Regions from separate parts of the Homo sapiens genome. Here region 2 is linked to region 1. Evidence: promoter capture Hi-C in 16 types of primary human blood cells and fetal thymus (Javierre and others, 2016). All regions are on one chromosome and are shown on one strand. Each heading gives the region's core, a stretch centred on a gene start or on the middle of the fragment in contact. The rest is flanking DNA. Distances are from core to core; before and after follow the strand shown.

What was found. Contacts are between HindIII fragments. The CHiCAGO score rates a contact against its expected background, and 5 or more counts as called.
Region 2: a contact is called between a fragment that was not itself captured here and the fragment with the promoter of RPS19BP1 in region 1, in 1 of 17 cell types (activated CD4 T cells). The highest score is 7.0, in activated CD4 T cells.

The regions. Positions count from the first base shown.
Region 1 is chr22:39,531,143-39,534,281 of GRCh38, reverse strand. It overlaps RPS19BP1 (ribosomal protein S19 binding protein 1), which reads left to right and starts at 1,534. Exons shown (of 4, transcript NM_194326.4): 1 at 1,534-1,595; 2 at 1,759-1,887. The coding sequence starts at 1,544. RefSeq lists enhancers at 1,340-1,389, 1,440-1,499, 1,289-1,804, 1,805-2,320 and silencers at 1,610-1,769, 1,950-2,079. The HindIII fragment of the contact is 8,920 bases long and covers 586-3,139 here.
Region 2 is chr22:40,053,448-40,056,709 of GRCh38, reverse strand. It overlaps a transcript of TNRC6B not described here. Among named protein-coding and RNA genes, the nearest start is that of TNRC6B-DT, 11 kb to the right of the region's middle. The HindIII fragment of the contact is 970 bases long and covers 980-1,949 here.

The DNA.
Region 1 (3,139 bases), core at 285-2,784:
GCTCCTCCTCACCCTCCAGGGGCCTACCTGACCCCATGGCTTGACAGGCCCCACCCAGCACCACAGCACTGCTCTCCCTGGTGGCTGGGACAGGAGCGCCCCCACAAATCCTGCGGCCAGGCTGCCAGTCTTAACTCCCACCCCTGACTCCACCCGTGTGACCTTCGCCTCTCTGTGTTTGTTTCCTCGTCTGTAAAATGCAAAAGACAATTCCTACCTGGAAGGGTAGGGGGGATAAACAAGTTAACAAATGTAAAGCACGTAGAACAGCACAAATGCTTGAGTTTGTGTTGGTTGTTATTATTACTCTCTAGCCGATGGAGCTTAAACGGTGTGGTCTATCCCGGAGGACGAACTCCAGGTCCCACACTCTGTGGTGTCAAGTACACAGAAGGCCCTCAGAACCCGGCTGAGTGAACCCAGTGGTCCCTTCTGATTCACCGTTCACTTATTGCGTGTCTTCTCCATGCCAGGTGCTGGGCTGCCAGCTGCAGATGGAGCAGCGAACAAGCCCAGGGCTCCTCCCCCAGGTAAGCAGTGTCACTTCTAGGCCAGAGGGGCTCAAATGTTTTGGTCTAAGAAGCTTCTTACATTTAAAACTTCAGAATCCCCTCACTCCTGTAATCCCAGCACTTTGGGAGGCTGAGGTGGGCGGATCACTTGAGGTCCGGAGTTCAAGACCAGCCTGGCCAACATGGCAAAACCCCGTCTCTACTAAAAATTTTTTAAAAAGAAAATTAGCCGGCCGTGGTGGCGGGCGTCTGTAATCTCAGTTACTCGGGAGGCTAAGGCAAAAGAATCGCTTGAACCCGGGAGGCGGAAGTTGCAGTGAGCCGAGATCGCTGCACTCCAGCCTGGGCGACAGAGCGAGATTCCGTCTCAAAAAAAAAATTAATTTAATTAAATAAAATAAATTTTAAAAAATTCAGGATCCCAAAGAACTTTTGTATGTAGGCAACTGATATTTGCCATACTAGAAACTAAAACAAAAATTTTACATATTCATTAATTCACTTAAAATGACAATAAACCCATTGCTTGGTAACATAAACAACGTATTTTATGAGAAATAATTGTAGTTTTCAAAACAAAGATATGTCTTTAATGTCTGGCTTAAGGGAAGACAACTGGATTCTCATGCTGCACTCAACCTGTGCGATACCTAGTGCTGGTTGAAGTATATGAAAAACACTCCGCCCTGTCCCCATCCTAGCCCGCCACGGAGCCACGAGACCCGAGAGGATTGGCCAACCCGGCGGAGCAGGTTGCGGACGGCTTCCGGGGAAGGAGGGGACTGAGCGCCAGGAGCCAGGTAGATTGGGATTGAGTAACACATGTGTCTTTCTGCGCCTTGGACCCGCCTCCAGTTTCCGCCCCTTCTTCCGCTCAAGTGTAAACCCCTAACGCATGCGTCCTAAGAAAGATGGGCACTTCCGCCCATCCCCCTCCGGATCCCTCTGTTCGGGCTCGGGTTTCCGCCGAGACGACAGGGACTGCCAGGTCGGAAGTAGTGTGAGGCTCGTGGGCGGAGCCAAGCGCCGCCATGTCCGCCGCCCTGCTGCGGCGGGGCCTGGAGCTGCTGGCGGCGTCCGAGGGTGAGGAGGGCTGGCCAGGGGACGTCCGGCGCGGGCAGGAGGATGGTAGTGGCTGCGGGCGGGAGCCCTGGATGGAAAACAATCCAGGCCGGGCTTAGCCCCAGTGGCATGGGAACGCTGCGCGCCCTCTGACCTGGGTCTCTTCCTCTCTCTTCCCCTACAGCCCCCCGGGACCCTCCAGGTCAGGCCAAGCCGAGAGGGGCTCCGGTGAAACGGCCCCGGAAGACGAAGGCAATTCAGGCCCAGAAACTGCGGAACTCGGCCAAGGGAAAGGTGCCCAAGTCGGCACTGGGTAAGTTCGGGAAGGGGCTGAAAGTGCTGCCTCCGGTGCTGGGACCTGCGCCCCAGAGGAGGTGGCGCTTGAGGCAGGGCTTGAAGCGTTCGCCCGGTATTGCTAGACCTACTGTGTGCCAGGCGCGGAGCGGGGCCCTGGACATACGAAGGTGACAGAACACGCCACCGTCCTGGTCCTCGTGGACTACGGCCCTAGTGGGGAGAGAAGCATCAAAGAATATCAAACCCAGTGTGTCATTGCTAAGTGCATTGAAGCCTATGAATTAAAAGACTACGGTACTCTGATGGGGACTTAGGCCAAGTCAGCCTTCTCTGAGGAAGCGACATTTCAGCCGAGAGCTGAAGGATGTATAAGAGTGAGCTAGGTGAAAAGTAGGAGAATATTCTAGGAAGAATAGTATGTGCAAAGGTCCTGAGTCAGAAAGGAGGTTGTTGCCTTTGAGAATTTGAAAAAATAAAGGCTGGTAAAGGTGACCTAGTGAATGAGGATCAAAGATGGAGCATTTAAACACATTCACTAACACTCTGTACCAGGTGCTGATTCTAAGTGCTGTACAAATGTAAGCTCGTTTGATCCTTACAGCAGCCCTTTGAGGTCGATACTACTATCACCCCCGTTTTACAGATTCAGAAAAAGGCACCTGCCCAGGTGGTACAGGCATTGTGGCTGCCCGGGCATTGTGTCTCCAGAGTGCTGCTATTACCTACTCCATTGAAATAGGACATGCTGTGGCCTGGGCAGTGGCTATAGCAGCAGAGATAACAAGAGAATTGTGCAGGTGGAAAATATGTTAAAGAGGGGGCAGCAGAGAATTTCAGCCTTTAGAGGGGTTTTAGTGGTGAATTGGCTGTGAAGGTGGAGCCTAGTTTCTTGGGGGACGTAGTGTCACTTAATAGACATAAAGACTTTCGGAGGGGCTGGTGTAGGCAAGATGGTGATATTTTGACATGTGTCAGGACGTGGCAAGCTCTTACTGTGTCTGAATCCCTAGAGTCTAATGCATAAAAGATGTTAAAGTATTTGTTAAAAGAATTATGAATTCCAAGGAGGAAATACAACTTAAGCCAAAGTCTGGAGGCAGGAAAGTGAGACAGGTTTGAGCCCCAGCGATACTTGCCATGAAGCAGGAGTGTGGAGTGCCAGAGGTCATTCCCATCTGTCCCAGCCCTTGTCTCACTGTCGTGTCCTGGGTGCTCACCCACCTCCCCTGTTGGATGGAAGCTCCTAAAGGCACACACCTCCTTGGGCT
Region 2 (3,262 bases), core at 215-2,714, 520 kb before region 1:
CCTCCTGCCTCAGCCTTTTGAGTAGCTAGGACTACAGGCATGTGCCATCATGCTCAGTTGATGTTTAAAACATTTTTTGTAGAGATGGGGGTCTCACTATGTTGCTCAAGCTGGTCTCGAACTCCTGGCCTCAAGTGATCCTCTTACTCTGGCTTCCCAAAGTGCTGGGATTACAGGCATGAGCCACTGCACCCAGCCTGATTTTCTATCTTACTTAAAGGTGTTGCCTTCTCAACCTCGTCCTGCTTCCATTTTTCTCTGTCCTTTCTCTTCCAAACATCTTAAACTAAACTGCATTCATTACTACCATTCTCCCTATCATCACTTAGCTCCTTAGCCCTTTGTTATGTAGATCAAATACATACACAGAACTTGCAGAAATCGGCATTACCGTAAGTCAATTAACATCTTGTGAGTGTAATCAGCACTACCAGAGCATAATCACTTCTTCCCATTTGAAAAATATCAAGCTCTGAATATGCAAAGCTGAGAAACATTAGTTTAGCCAACAAGGTATGGACATCCTGCAACTGAAAGCAACTTAGCGGAAATAGAATGGAAGATGGCTAGAGATGGGGTGGATGGGGAAAGGAGACACTACTTAAGAGTAACAGGGAGAGAAAAATGGATAGGAGGAGACAGAAAAGGAAAGAGACATTGAAAACAAATAGGAGTAAATGAAGGAAAATGGGCTACATTTTTATCCAATTAATCTCCCTTTTTCAAATCTGGTTGAGAATTAAATTAGATTAATGTTAGCTCAGTGAACCACTTGGAGACTTGGAGATATGTAAAGACCTTCAAGCTGTAGGAACTGTCTTTCCCAGAACATATACCAGAGGCCCTTCTGGGTAGTCCTCTTTTCTGATTTCCTCTCTTTCACTGGTTCAGTGTCTGATCCATTTGAGATGGTATCAGCACTCACCTCAGGTGATCTAGAAGTCACTTCCTTTACACTCTCTGCTCCTACAGATAAGCTTAAATGAGTCACCACTTTCTAATTCCACCTAACATCATTTGCATGGTTATAGGTACACCACTGAAGCAAGTATATTAACTAGAAGTGACAAGTGCCGTTGTGGTTTATGATTATCTTCTCTGAATGGTACTCTATGCCTTTATGAATTCAAACATACAGATTCAGATCATTATTCTAAGGTCATTTCCTGTCCTAAACTGCAGTGGAGTAAGAGGCTGAGTCTGACATATCATGGTTCAACTGTAAGTCAGCTATTAGCCCTGTACCCTAATGCCAGCCTTGTAAAGCATACCGCTGTGCCGGTCATCTTCTCCACATACTAAAAACGCTCCCCCATGCCTCTACACAGGCTGTTCTCTCTGCCGGAAATGCCCTTTTCCTCCACAACTTAGTGTGAGTGTCACCTTCCCTGGGAAGGCTTTCTCAACCTCCCCATCGTGTTGATGACCTTCCTTTTCATCCCCGCAGCACCTCTTGTACTGTCTATTACAGCACTTATTACACTAAATGGCACTCATCTGTGTCCACATCTGTCTCACCCACCTGGCTGTGCATTCCTTGGGAACAAAGATCTCCTTTCGCCCCACCTCTGTAGTCCTGGCTCCTAGCACAGCATTCAGCATGTCTATGCATTCAAATGTTTAGTGAGAGCGTCATCATGTCAAGCCCAAGCATAATTTCTTTTCTTTTTTTGGAGACGGAGTCTTGTTCTGTCACCCAGGCTGGAGCTTAATGGTGCAATCTCAGCTCACTGCAACCTCTGCCTCCCGGGCTCAAGCAACCTTCCTGTATCAGCCTCCCGAGTAGCTGGGACTACTGGCGCGCACTACTACAACCAGCTAATTTTTTTTTTTTTTGTAGAGATGGGTTTCACCATGTCACCCAGGCTGGTCTCGAACTCCTGGACTCAAGTGACCTGCCTGCCTTGGCCTCCCAAAGTGCTGGCATTACATGCATGAGCCACCAAGCTTTGCCTAAAATGAGGTTTTTTAGAAATTCTATTTTAAATTCTCTTTCTTAACTTCATTTGAAAAAATATTTATTGAGGACCTACTATGTGCAACTCACAGTGCTAGATGTTGGTGACACAAATGTGAATAAAACAGAGTATTTTTATTCATGTAGCTATTTTCCAGAAGGGGAAATATAATATACAAATTAAATAATTATACAATTGATATCTTCTAATGTGGGGCGGGGTGATTAGGAAGTCATTAAAGAGGAGACACACACACTGAGCTCAGGATTGAAGAGGCATTAACTAAGGTTGGGCCTGCGGGCTTCCAGCTGTGAGAATAGTATGCTCAAGGAAGGGACCTTGGGTAGTGAAGAACACACATTTCCGGAACTTGAAGAGGGTCAGTATGGTGAGAGTACACTCAGCAAGGGGGAAGACAGTAGGAAAAGAGGCAGGGGACGCTGGCAGAAGCTTCACTGGGCAGTCAGTGAAAAAGGCAAGAACAAGAATTCAGGTTCTTATCAGGGTCTTTAGGCCTCACTGACAGTTTTGTTTTTGAGACAGGGTCTCACTCTGTCACCCACACTGGAGTGTGGTGGCGCAATCTCGGCTGACTGCAACCTCTGCCTCCAGGCTCAAGCTAGCCTCCCACCTCAGCCTCCTGAGTAGCTGGGACTACAGGCAGGCACCACCACGCCCAGCTAATTTTTGTATTTTTTGCAGAGACAGGGTTTTGCTATGTTGCCCAGGCTGGTCTTGACCTCCTGAGCTCAAGATATTCACCCACCTCAGCTTCCCAAAGTGCTGGGATTACAGGCACGAGCCTGTGCACCCAGTTATTAACAGTTTTAAGTAGGGGAGAAATATGATCAGATTTACACTTGCTTTTTAAGTAAATGTTTTAAATTAAGATATACACAGAACACATCTGTAGTTTTAAAAGATTATTCTCACTACAGTTTCAACAATTCTCTGAAGTAGAGAAGTTCCTACTTGCAAAAGAAAAAACTAAGACTCTGCAAAGCTAAGTAACTTACTTCAAGTTATTTATTTAACAAACATTTGAGTGTCTACGATATGACAGACACAGTACAGTATGTGCCTAGGGATGCAAAGATGACTACAATAGTCTCACTTAAGAAATTTGCAATCCAGCAGGAGAGACAGATTAAGAAACATGATATAATGTAGTCTATGTCAGAAATGAGTAAAGTCTAAGAGAACAGAGAGAAATTCAATCTTCCTAGGAAGAATTAACCATTTCACCTGTGTGTTAAAGGGGTATTTTTTTTTCCATACTGTAGTTTTTGAATTTTCAGTCATTC